2 separate regions of the Homo sapiens genome follow, and region 1 is linked to region 2. Evidence: promoter capture Hi-C in human tissues and cell types (Jung and others, 2019). All regions are on one chromosome and are shown on one strand. Each heading gives the region's core, a stretch centred on a gene start or on the middle of the fragment in contact. The rest is flanking DNA. Distances are from core to core; before and after follow the strand shown.

Evidence for each region. The method cuts DNA at HindIII sites, captures the fragments that hold promoters and counts their contacts. A contact is called where the count stands out against the background at its distance.
Region 1: a fragment that was not itself captured here is called in contact with the fragment with the promoter of CXCL12 in region 2 in 1 of the 25 tissues and cell types used here (thymus).

Annotation. Positions count from the first base shown.
Region 1 is chr10:44,179,402-44,185,934 of GRCh38, reverse strand. No RefSeq gene overlaps it. Among named protein-coding and RNA genes, the nearest start is that of LINC02881, 110 kb to the left of the region's middle. RefSeq lists an enhancer at 3,380-3,549. The HindIII fragment of the contact is 9,423 bases long and covers 1-6,533 here.
Region 2 is chr10:44,381,723-44,388,174 of GRCh38, reverse strand. It overlaps CXCL12 (C-X-C motif chemokine ligand 12), which reads left to right and starts at 3,078. Exons shown (of 3, transcript NM_199168.4): 1 at 3,078-3,230. The coding sequence starts at 3,170. RefSeq lists a silencer at 1,340-1,549 and enhancers at 3,443-4,134, 4,135-4,828, 4,829-5,522. The HindIII fragment of the contact is 18,967 bases long and covers 1-6,452 here.

The DNA of each region.
Region 1 (6,533 bases), core at 1,794-4,293, 200 kb after region 2:
CCTGTCATGCCCAGCACAGCGCCTGGCACACAGCTGAGGCTGAGCACAGGTCAAATACATTAGCTGGTTTTTTTACTGTTTTATATTTTGAGACAAAAAAAAAACACAGTGAATAATCTCAGGTGAGTTGAATTCACTGCATTCATGATAGCCTATAAGCTAAAAAAATCTTACTCATTTTTTTCCAAATTATTTGCTGGGTATCCAAACTTATCCATCCAGCACCAATCTTAATACTTTTATTTTTGTCTTTGTCCTGTAAGGTCATTTCTTCTTTTATAAAATGGAAACGTCCCCTTTCCCCTGAGAAGCATAGAGAGGAACGTGGGAGACAGATGGACTGATGCATTGCTGTGCGAGTCACCCTCAGGGGGGTCGGGGAAGCCTCTGGTCCCTCTCGTTCCATCTCCACTGCCATGCCAAGGTGCGTGTCCCTTGACACTGTGCACCTGTCTCCTTTCACTTCTTTTTCTTTTCTTTATTTCTTAATTCCTACTTTTTTCCTTCCTTTCTCCCTCCTTCATTTTCTTCTTTCCTCCCTCTCTCCCTCCCTTCCTCCTTTCCTTCCTTCTTCCTTCTTTTCTCAATTCATTTGGCCCCCATCAGGTTTACTACCATCCTAATGCCTAGCTGTTCCATGCTACTCTCCTGCACAAAGCCCTTTATAGACACATACACACACACACACACAACACACATGAGTGCACACACACTCATGCCCACACCCACACATGCACACACATGCACACAGGCACACACTCAAAACATGCACACACACACACATGCACACATGCACGCATGCACACACACGCACCCATGCACACACACACACACACACGCATGCAGACACACACACGCATGTACACACACTCACGCATGCACTATCCCATGGTCTTGAAGCCCGCAGGTTGAACCCAGTACGTGCTCTCCACTCATCACCCTTTAGAAGGGAGTTGGGCAGTTGAGGGTCTCTCCATAACAGAACCTGGAAGGAAGCTCATAGAAGGTGGGCTATGGGCCTGGAGAAGACAGGATGCAGAGGACACTCAGGCTGCAAACCACCACTCCCAGGCCTCCCTGTTCTCCTGCTCCTTCCCTGCCCTTCCTGGGCTCCCTTGACCACTCCTGTCTGTGCCCAGGTTGGCCTGTCTGCATTTGTTCTCATGAGATATTTCCTCTTTCCTAAAATAGATATCTCCTCACTCACTCCTATCACATAGAAATCCCACCAGCATTCCAGACCCAGACTGCTGTCTCCTCCATGTGTTCCTCCCACCTTCCTGGGTAGGTTTCCATTTCTTTCCCTGAACGACAGGGACACTGCCCAGTGTTGTCTGATCAGATTCAAACATGGTGAAGACTCTGCTCTGGGATGTGGGAGTGGGTTCCCATGTTGGGTGGGGGGAGGGAGACACATAAGGTACATGGTGGGAACGTGCAGTGACAGGGGTGCAGGCCAGCAAGGTGACACAGCTCTGACCACTGCGCCATCCTCCTGCCCACCTACTGTGACATTGGAAGAGGATAGTTGGGACTGACCAATGAATTCACGTGATCGTGGAATGAATACAGTATATTTTTTAGTAGCCAAAATGGTTTTTATTTTATGTATAAGAATTGTGTGGATTGCTTTTCTCTACAGATGCCAAGGGCATTGGATCTGACAGCCCTGCAGCACAGAGAGGCAGGCCCAGGGCAGCTGCAAGCCAGGCAGCCTGGGCTCAGCTCCCAGTTCTCCTGTGATTAACTGCTGGTCCTGGACAGGCTCTTCATCCCTTCCATGCCTCAGTCTTTTCATCTGTAAAATCACAAGAATGTGTAGGTTTGCCATGAGGAGTAAGGCAATATGTAAATGATCGGAGTAACTGCATGGAGGAAATGCTGAGTATTGATTACAGCTCTGTCAGATCAGATCCAAAGCCACTGGCATCCAGCAGAGCCATGTTGACCTCCCATCCTAATGGCAGCGCTTTCTCCATGTTCTGTGAAACACAATCAAACACACATGAGTCACATTAAGCAACAGGACCTCCCATAAATAATTTTGTGTTGACTCTGCAAAACGCATGCTGTAGTGCCAACCAAGTTCACAAAGCTGTTGCTCAAGGAGTCTGTTTTTTTTAATTTTAAATAATAGCTCTGCATTGCCTGGAAGAATGTTATTTACATTCCCAAATTTAAGGTTTGTGAAAGAATTTGCCATAACAGAATTTGAAAACTCAGCAAGTTTTTAGTTTTGTGCTCAGTTTTTTAAGTTTTAAAGTTTCCTTCAACTTCAAACAAAGCCAGTTCTCATGTCCACATATTGCATCTAGCTCTGTGCAGAAAATAATTAATAGTTAGACCTCTGTTTAAAATCTGCCTCCACATTTATGCAAATCACATACATTCTCAGCATCTTGGTGCTTTCAACTCTTACATGGGGGAAAGGAAACTAACTCATGCATAATTTTTATGAAGACTAAAAGAGACTTAAACCATGCATGCTATACTTGTTATTGGATAAAAGGCTGCAAAAATAAGAGTAGATACCACTTTTGTTGGGCAGATATTTACTAGGTACTATGCACTTTACATATATCCAGTTTCCTCCCCAGTACATCTTGGACTTTTCAGGAGGATGAACTTTGAAGAAACTGCCAGAAATTTAGGCAGAGAGCCAGATGGAGAACCAGAGGGTGTTTAAACAGGGCCACGGGAGAAGATACAATATGAGATCAGGGATGGATATTGAGTTCTAGAGAAAGAATACTGAGATAAAAAATGAAGAAAGTCTCTTAGACTTGTCACACACAATTTTGGCAGCATTACATTGGCCAAAGGTAGACTGGCCTACATTCAGGTTGAAAAACAAGACAATTTGGCCAAACGATGTCTAGGTCAAAAACCAAACATTTAATAACTAGGTCATTTTGGATGCATCCTGGGGAGTAGTTTTGCAAACCTTGATCTACCTCTAAGAAGTTTTGCCAGTTTCTCAGAAACTTTTTTAATGGTCATAAATGTGTTTAAATTTTTACTTGCTATTCTGTTCTGTTGCTCTGTTGAAATTTAAGTAGTGAAAAGGTAGAATAAATAATGCTCATCAGTAGATTTTCTGAGACAATTTCTCAGACAAATAGTATAGTTTAATTTGTATAAGGAAGGCATCTAAGGACATAATATTCCAAGGTGAGGCTGAGGGTTGTCCTAAGGTGGGTGGGAGTGTGGGAGATTTGGTTGTTCTTTTGCTTTCCTGTATTGTTCTCATTTTTATTTTTATTTATTTATTTTATTTTATTTTTTTGAGATGGAGTTTTACTCTCATTGCCCAGGCTGGAGTGCAATGGCACGATCTTGGCTCACCACAACTCTGCTTCCTGGGTTCAAGTGATTCTCCTGCCTCAGCCTCCCAAGTAGCTGGGATTACAGGCATGTGCCACCACGCCCAGCTAATTCTGTATTTTTAGGAGAGACGGGGCTTCTCCCTGTTGGTCAGGCTGGTCTCAAACTCCCAACCTCAGGTGATCTGCTCACCTTGGCCTCCCAAAGTTCTGGGATTACAGGCGTGAGCCACTGTGCCCTGCATTTTCTCATTTTTAAAATGAACTTGGTTTCCTTTTGTAATAGAAAAAAAAGAGTAAATATAAAAAGAAAAACATCTGGAATATTCAGAGATGTTTAAAGATTTTTTAATTTTTATTTATTTATTTATTTATTTATTTATTTTTGAGACAGAGTCTCGCTCTGTCGCCCAGGCTGGAGTGCAGTGGTGTAATTCTGGCTCACTGCAATCTCCACCTGCCGGGTTCACACCATTCTCCTGCCTCAGCCTCCCCTCCCGAGTAGCTGAGACTACAGGTGCCCGCCACCATTCCCGGCTAATTTTTTGTATTTTTAATAGAGACAGGGTTTCACCATATTACCCAGGATGGTCTCGATCTCCTGACCTCGTGATTCGCCCGCCTCGGCCTCAGAAAGTGGTGGGATTACAGGCGTGAGTCACTGTGCCCGGCCAAGAATATTTTTTTTAAAGAATATGTTAAATTCATTTTAAGCCAATGTTAGATGGCTACTAGGGGAAATTTTCAGAATTCAGCATCAGGGAATTGAGTGAAAGAGAGGCAGATACTGGGTAGAGTTTGGAAAATGCAAACCTAGGTCTCTGATACACCCCTTCCTCCACTGTCTTTCAGTGAACACCGTTGTTATTGCTGAATATCCAAAGATTTGGCTTTGCACTATAGGAAGTTATGTGCATTCCTTTTCACCATTCTGATCTACAGGGACTGCCTCCATGTTCCTGCACAGAGAAGACAGGAGAGAAAGAAGCTGCATAGCTTTTGTTGTTTCTTGTTGTCGTCATCAGAATTTTTCCAGGAACGGCACGCAGCTAATAGTTTCTCCCATAAGAACATTTCACAGGGAAGGACACTCATAAGGATTTGAGGCTATACAAATCTAATCAAATGAAAAGAGATGTGAGGCCTGGTGGAGTGGCTCATACCTATAATCCCAGCACTTTGAGAGGCCAAGGCAGGTGGATCGGGAGGTCAGGTGTTCGAGATCAGCCTGGCCAACAAGGTGAAACCCTGTCTCTACTAAAAATACAAAAATATTATCTGGGTGTGGTGGCACATGCCTGTAGTACCAGCTACTTGGGAGGCTGAGGCAGGAGAATCGCTTGAACCTGGGAGGCAGAGGTTGCCGTGAGCCAAGATCGCACCACTGCATTCCAGCCTGGGCAACAGAGCCAGACTCTGTCTCAAAAAAAAGAAAAGAGATGTGAAAGAACTCATCATTGTGTATATTTGGTGCATGGCTCAGAGCCCTCATGATGAACTAATTATATGTGACACTGTATGAACAAGAACATCACTCTCAATCTGCTTCTTGCTACAGCACATTTTCTCCTACCCAGCTAAAATGTGGCAATTCGTCATTGGGTTTGTTTTGCATTACTGCAGTGTAAGAGTGACACTTAAGCTCTCCAGGCAAATGAGGGCATTCCTTCTGTTGAATGTGTTCAAGAGTGGGATCCTCTTGTGAATTCACTTATGTTTTAGTTCTATGCAATTCTTAGTTCTTCAGTGGGGCAATGCTATTATTATCGAATTACCAAAATGCAGACCAATGCTGAATAAAACATGTTTTCTAACTTGTAGCTCAGAAGGATTTGGCAATATTGGTATTTTCCTCTTTCTCAACTTTCCCAGATTTTTGGCTAAGGCATCTGCATCCTCCATGTGCTCCTTGTTAGAACAATATTGCCTCTCGTTTTAGGAGGAGTTCTCAGTGCCACAGTCAGACCTGTGATGTGCTTTCTTCTGGCACCACTGGTGCACTGTCCCAGAGCTCTTCAAGAAATGCAAGAAGGGCCGGGCTGCTTGAGATGCGAACAAAACCCCCTTTATGGGATCAGGGGAGTTGCAGCATCTGGCATTTGACAAGACACTGTTTCACGTGACGAAGTCACATGGACTTTTGGAAAAGAACCCACTGCACTGTAGGTGTCCGATGCCTGCCACAGCGTATGAGTCAGCGGGGATGAATGCTCTGAGAGAGACTTCTGAAGCACAGATGTTGGTGTGAGTTTAGAAAGAAAAAGCCTGATTCTTCCACCTCATTGGAATCCCTGTTGTGGTCTCAGCCAGATAGCATCTACACCATTTAATAGGTTTATAACAGCAGTTCTACATCAGACACGGCAAACTGGTCCATGGTCACTGAGATTCGTGAGGTCTCACTAGCTCAGTGCCGCTGGATATCCGTGCACCAAACTGGGTCATAAAGCATCGGCACTGCCACCAGAAGCTATGCAGATAGCGCCAAGACCACTGGACACCAACTAGAACATAAGAACACCGTGAGAAAATAGGGTACACCACTCAGCCGGGGCTGCCATGACAAAGTACCAGACTGGGCGGCTTAAACAACAAAAACATATGTCTCCTGCAGTTCTGGAGGCTGGGAGTCTGAGACCAAGGCACTGGCAGGTTTTGTTTCTTCTGAAGCTACCCTCCTTGGCTTTTTCTTATATCTTTTCCCTGTATCTTCCCATGGTCTTCCCCCTATACCTTCCCTATATCTTTACATTGTCTTCCCTTTGTATCCTAATCTCTTCTTCTTATAAGGACACCAGTCATATTAGATTGAGGCCCACCCTAACCATCACATTTTAACTTAGTCACCTCTGTAAAGGCCCTATTTCCAAATACAGTGACATTCTGACGTTCTGAGCATTGAGATCTCAAAATATGAATTAAGGAGAAACACAATTCATGCCACGACTATGGGTAAAGAGGAATTTGACACCATTTGCTTTTCCTTGACCACTTTCCCAGTGATGAGGAAGGGCTAGGATTAGCTTCCTATCCCAGCATGAGGCACCATATTTGAATATAATACCAAATATGGCTCAAGGGATCAAGCCATTGAAAACAATAAGGCAACTCATACAAGAAAAATCAGGCTTTTTCTTTCTCAGGCAATTCACTTTCCCTTACTTAGCAATTGCTGTATTCTTTATTTCTATCTCCATATCTTAGAGTAAT
Region 2 (6,452 bases), core at 1,829-4,328:
GCTGCCTAGGGGTCTAGAGACCATAGCACACATGCCAGCTCAGGAGATGCCCTGCCTTTAACTCAGCAGCCAGACCCCTGCCTCCCACCTTGAACTGTGCTTAACAAGGCATCCCTGAGGAGCCGCTGTGCCCTGCATTACCTGGTAGAGCGGCACAGAGTCTGAAGACTTCAGGAGAAGGTGGGGCTCTATGGGGAGTAAGAGTCCCCAGGCAGAGAAAGAAAGGTGGAGCCTTTTGAGCATAAGCATAAGCAAAGGACACAGGGAAAGGGGTGGGGAACTTCGCTGACCCGAATTTGAGAGGTACCCCTGTGGCCGAGTGAGCTGGAGACATGTCAAAATGGCCTGGTCTGATGGCCGCCTGCCTGTGCAGGCGGTGCGGAGGCCCCCAGAGTGTACAGGGTTTTATTTTATTTTATTTACATATTTACATATTTATTTATTTATTTACATATTTGTTTATTTATTTATTTTTGAGACGGAGTCTCGCTTTGTCACCCAGGCTGGAGTGCAGTGGCGCCATCTCGGCTCACTGCAAGCTCCGCCTCCCGGGTTCACGCCATTTTCCTGCCTCAGCCTCCCGAGTAGCTGGGACTACAGGCGCCCGCCACCACGGCCGGCTAATTTTTTTGTATTTTTAGTAGAGACGGGGTTTCACCGTGTTAGCCAGGATGGTCTCGAACTCCTGACCTCGTGATCCGCCCGCCTCGGCCTTCCAAAGTGCTGGGATTACAGGCATGAGCCACCGTGCCCGGCCAGGGTTTTAAATTTCAATCGCCAATTGTAAAATTGTGAGGCTTGTACCTAAAATATGGATCCTTGGCCACCCTATTTAAAATCCTAACTCCCACCCCACTTTCCTCTGCTCCATCTTCCCCTAGCATTTAATGGCCTTCTAAGTATTTTATGCGTAATTACTTATGCTTAGCGCCATGTGCTTCTAAACGTTTAGTGCCTTTTCTAAACTACTTCAAACATGTAGCCCAGGTCTAGCACATAGTGGGTGCTCAGTAAGTATTTAACGAACGACTAGCGGAAGGGATGGCCCCATGGGTGCCACAGTAGCTTCTGTTCTGGGGCCTCAGGGCGCCTGCGGGAGGGGCAGCGGCCAGGCCTGAATCCCTGGTTCGCCCTCGACTCAGCCCACGCGGGCCTTTCAGGCTTCTGGGACAGATCCTAGGTCCAGCTGCCCACCTGATTTTGTGGCAAAGAAAAAAAGAAGAAGAAGAAGCGAGAGGCGATGGCGTTTGCTTTGGCCAGATTTAAGGGCAAGCGAGGCTGCGCGCGGCTCCCGCAGGGTCGGATCTCCGAGCTCCAGGGCGCCCCTCCACCCGGGTGTAGATTTCCCGCGGACCCCTTCGCCCTCCCGGGTTTCATCAGCTGCGCAGGAATGGAGCTGGCCAGAGCTCTGGGAGCGGGGAGGGAGGCGCCGCCACCAGAGGGCGCCGGAGCCCCAGCGCTGCGGCCGGTGAGCGGCCAGGCTCCCCGGCCCAGCCCAGCAAAGGCCTGGGGACGCCCGACGGCTGCCTTCTTCACTGGACCTCACTGCCTTCAGTTCTTTAAGAGCAGGGCCAAGTCAGTGGGGTTCCCGGCTCCAAGCCCAGTGCCCAGGGTGGGTGGGTGGGTGGGTGGGTGGGTGGATGGATGGATGGATGGATGGATGGAGTGCCGGCCCACAGCCATCTAACGGCCAAAGTGGTTTTGGAAAAAAAATGCACAGAAGACACCTACTCCCACCAGCGGAGTTCCGGAGCCCTCGCAGCCTCCTGTTGACCGCTCCCGCCTAATGCAGCCGCTGACCGCCCACTCCCCGACGGCCAGGACTCCCCAGGGACAGGGACGTGTCCCCAGGGCAGGCCCCTGGATGGACGCGGCGACTGACCCCACTTCGCTGGACGCTGTGCTGGGAAGGACACAGAGAGGTGGCTGGGGCAGCCTGCGGTCACAAAGCGAGGCCCAAAGGGGCGCTCTCCTCACCCCCACGTCTCCTGGGTGCCGACCTGCACCCTCCCTTCGCCACCGGACTGGGGCCATCTGGGATGTCTCGGGGGTATCCGGAGGGCTAAGCACCGCCGAGGGACGGCTCCGTGGGAAGAGTTTTCTGGACCCAGAAGGCAGACGCCAGTAGTACTGTCCTAGGAGTCGGAGGTCGGGGTGGGGGAGTTCTCAGCTCTTTGGGTCGCACGGAGCTTTTCTTGGGTAAGGCAGTAAGTACTTAGGTTTAAAGGACTTACTTACAGCTACCATTTATTGAGTACTGTCTGCTTGTCAGACACGATGCAGAGAATTTCGCGGCGTGGGGCGGGTCTCATTGAATCTCCCGTCCCACTCCGCGGGGTGGGCCTGTGATTAGCTCATTTCACCATTGAGAGGTCGGAAGTACAAAGGCTACATTCGCTTTTACTGAGAGCCGCCGGCGCCTTCTGCTTTGTTTGTACAGGCGAGGAAACTGAGGCTCGGCTGGTGGCGCCGTGGGCTTGGAGTCCGAGCCACGCTGACTGCAAAGACGGGTCTCATTCCCGCAGATCGAGCTCTGCCGGCGGCTGCGCCGCAAGCCGGGCAGGTGGCGAGCTTGAGCCCCCACGCACAGAAAGCAGGACCCCCTCGGCTGCCTTGGGCCGCCACCGCCAGCAGGCCCTCCGCCCGGGACTAACTTGTTTGCTTTTCATTGGTTCTCATTCAGTTCCCGCCATCGAAAGGCCCCGTCCCGCAGCTTTCCACGCGCGCCCCACTTTACGCCTAAGGTCCTCAGTCTCTCCAGTGGGGCCCTGTCACAGGGACAATAAGCGGCCCTCCAGCCGGCGTCGCTCAGGCTGCGGACCTCACTGCAGACCGGGCCAGCGGTGCGGGGCCCAGCGGAGCCTGAGAAGGTCAAAGGCCGGAGCGCACTGCGCCTCGGGAGCACAGAGGGAGCGGAGGAGGGGCGAAGGGGATGGGTGGGGGGTGCCGCCGAGGGAGTCGCGCGTCAGAGACCCCGGCCACGGCCAGCACTCGGCTCCGGGCCCGCCCCTCACCGCGCGCCCCGCCCCGCCCCGCCTGGCTCTCCCCTCTAAAGCGCCCGGCGCGCGCCTCCCACCGCCGCACTTTCACTCTCCGTCAGCCGCATTGCCCGCTCGGCGTCCGGCCCCCGACCCGCGCTCGTCCGCCCGCCCGCCCGCCCGCCCGCGCCATGAACGCCAAGGTCGTGGTCGTGCTGGTCCTCGTGCTGACCGCGCTCTGCCTCAGCGACGGTAAGTGCGCTCGGCGGGGAGGCCCTGGCGAGGCTCTGGGCTTCGGCTCCCGCCCGGCGCAGAGCCGCGGCTCCTCTGCCTGCGCCCGCAGTTTGCGCCGCCCGACACAGTGGGGGTGGAGGCAGCTCGCTTAGCTGGGCGCTCTGGTGCGGTGTCGCGTTCAAAGCCCTACTTTTGCGCCGAGGGTTTGTGACCTGCAGAGAGCGACCGCCTGACCTCAAGCTGGCTGCAGAGCGAGGTCAGCCGGGACAACTGGGCAGGAACGCCCCAAGAGAGCGTTCGGGACTGGCGCGGGAAGGCGCGAGGGTGGGGAGCCGCGGACCCCAGACCCCTGCCTGCCCACCCTCCACCCACTGCCTTCCCGCTGCGGGCTCGGTTTCCACAGGCGAATGGGCTCCGAGGTCCTGCTGCGCACAGTGCTGGAGGTCGGGCGGTGCATGGCGAGAGCGCGCTTTGCAAAGTTCGCCTCATGCCGCGACTTGAGGCTGTGAGGTCCGATGCAGCCGCGCAGCCTCCGCTCCCTGCGAAGCCGATCCTCTCCCCACACCCTCGCGGGGCTCTTGGCCAGGCGCGGGCGGGCTGCGCGGCGCAGCTGTCGGGCTTGTGCCACCCGCCAGGCCGCGCTTCTGCACAGCTCCGCGGTCCGCAGCGACGCGGACCTGGGCGCGCGTCCAGCCGCTGTCTTCCTGTCTCTTCTCGGGTTCACCTGAGAGAGGCCCAGGGACCCTCCGAGCCTCACACGCCCCCTCCCCAGCTCCCCAAACACACCTGCAGACAGGCTCTTTTGTCACCAGCTGGCCAAGCGCTTTGCCCCAGAATGAGAGCTGCAGCAAAGTTCAATCTCCAAGGCCCTGGGCCACTGGGAACCGTGGTGTCCCGTTTCACTGGGAGAGGGCTTTTTTCTTTTCTTTCGCTGAAGAGAAACTCGCTGCGCTGTCACAGGACACCGATGCAAACCAAAATAAACTGTTGCCTCTGAACACACAAAACAAAACCCTGTGGCTCAGGCCGCTGAGCTTCCTTGGCTGTGAAGTTTCCTGCAAAGAGTTGAAGGACACTCTGAGTGCTCTTGCAGCCGCGGGCTGTGCAGGCCCAGCGCGCCTCGAGCCCTTGGCTGGGTTGGTGCAGACGTGGCCCCGGCGTCCTAGCTGGCTTGGACTGTGCGCTGGTGTGAGCAGGACCAGCGCAGCTGAGTCGGGCTGGAGAAGCTGGGCAGCCTGGGGTCGTGGCGGACTGCCTAAGTGTTAAGGACACAGACTGAAGGCAATTGGGAATGTTCGTCGTTGATGAAAAGTCCCTGAGGCTGTGTCTGCACACTGACCCCCCCCCCCCCCCGCAAGTCATGGGGCATGTTTCTAGTTTTTATTGCTGGATATTCTTCTGTTCCTGTAAGGTCTCTGGTTTGGGCAGTTATTGACTGATTGGTGGGATGAGCGCGGAGGTGTCACAGTGCGCCGCTCTGGGAAATGGTGCTGCCCCCTCCCCGGAGGGCTGGAGAGAGGATTGGAATGAGGAACCTCGGTCTTTGAGTTATGGGTGCAACTGACCTGGGGGAAGCACAGAGACGTGGGGTTCATCCCAGACTCCTCCTGGCCTGGGAAGGGTGACATGGCCCTCAGAGTTGCCCCATTGGCAGCCAAGTAACCAGGGCAGGAGCCTGGGCTCCAGGCAGATCTGCTCCTTACACACATCGCCAGAATGTTTTGTTTTGTTTTGTTTTCCCCTCACCTCACAGTGCCTATGTGCCCCCTATCCCCACACTTAGTCCTCAAGCTGCACTACAGAGAGAGCTTGGCCAGGGGTCCTGCCCCTCCCCCATTGGCTGACTTCCGTCAGGCAGCTGGGCCCTTGGGTTTCCCGGGCTTAAACTCAGGGTGGGCCCCCTTCCCAAGCCTGCTTGGAGGGGCCAGCTGGGCTCCTGTCTCTGCATTAGACTGGAGGGCTTTCTGAAAACTCCTGGAGCCAAGCTCACCCGGTCCCAAATCCGGGGTACCATCAGAGCCAGTCAGGACTCTTGCCGGTACACGGATTTACATCCAGAACGGTTGGGAAAGTTAGTCTTACTGACAAAAAGCTGGAGGAAGGAGCACATGAGGTACACACGAGACCATGTTCTTTTGGTAAGCACACCTGGGGGCTCTGTCACTTTAAAAAGACCTGTTGAAATTCGCTGCTTGACAGGCGGGCCTTAGGTCCTGGGAGTAGAAGCAAGAATTGCTTTTGAAGGAAATGGATAATCCCAGGGGGTGGAGGGGGAGAGGAGAGAGAGCCTGTGTGTTGAGCTCTGAATAGGCTCTGATTTCTGGCCTCATCACCACTGCTTGGTTGGGGGGCCAGAGGAGCTTCTCTCCTCTGGGCGCTGGAGAGTCACAGCCCCACCCATCCCAGCGGGGGCGGCTGCAGCACTTGCCCTTGGCTGCATATCTTCAAGCTCACTGTTGCCGGGAGGGGGCTTGTGCCTCACTACCGGCCTCCTATTCTCCTGCTCCACCCCCAACCCACCCCCTGCCTCAGCTTGGAAGGGCCCAAAAGAAATCCAGGGAAACCTGGAGGCACAACACTCAGGAGCGTTTAGCTCCTCAGTTACCCAGGCTGCAGGCCCCGGCCCTGGGGGTGGCTTTCCCAGGTGATCTGGTTACAGTGCAGTGCTGACTTCCCCTGCAGGGTCCCAGTGCAGCTGCTGGAAGCTGGCCCCAGAGGTGCCTTTCTGGAGTTAGATCAGGTGTAACTGTGAAGGCTGCCTTAGGTCTCTCCAGTGCCATGAGTCACCAGCACCCTGATGCTTGGCTTTTTCCTGGTTTTCAGGGAGTTGCATTTGGTCCTGGGGACAAGGAAGTGGGGGGACAAGTGGTCCACTTTTCCTGCAACTTGGTGGCTGAATACACAATGCAATTCCTAGTCCACATCATCCCTCAATTGATTGCAGTCTGTAGAAAAAATAAAATAAAATGAGCCCCTTACTCAAGATTTCCTCCTACTTCCCCAGCATTCTTTCCCAAAGGTGCAGAATTTCAGAACCACAGAGGTCTCTCAGAACTTTGTAAACAGGCAAACTTAAAAAAAAAGAAAAAAGAAAAAAAATCTCTGGACCAAATATTCTTAGACATATATTTAATCTCTGATGAAAGGATCCACAAGTTCAAATAATTTGGGGTATTAAGTGGGGCTTGGATAAAATCTTCAAGGAAAAAAGAAAAACAAAAAGCACACACAAATCCCAGC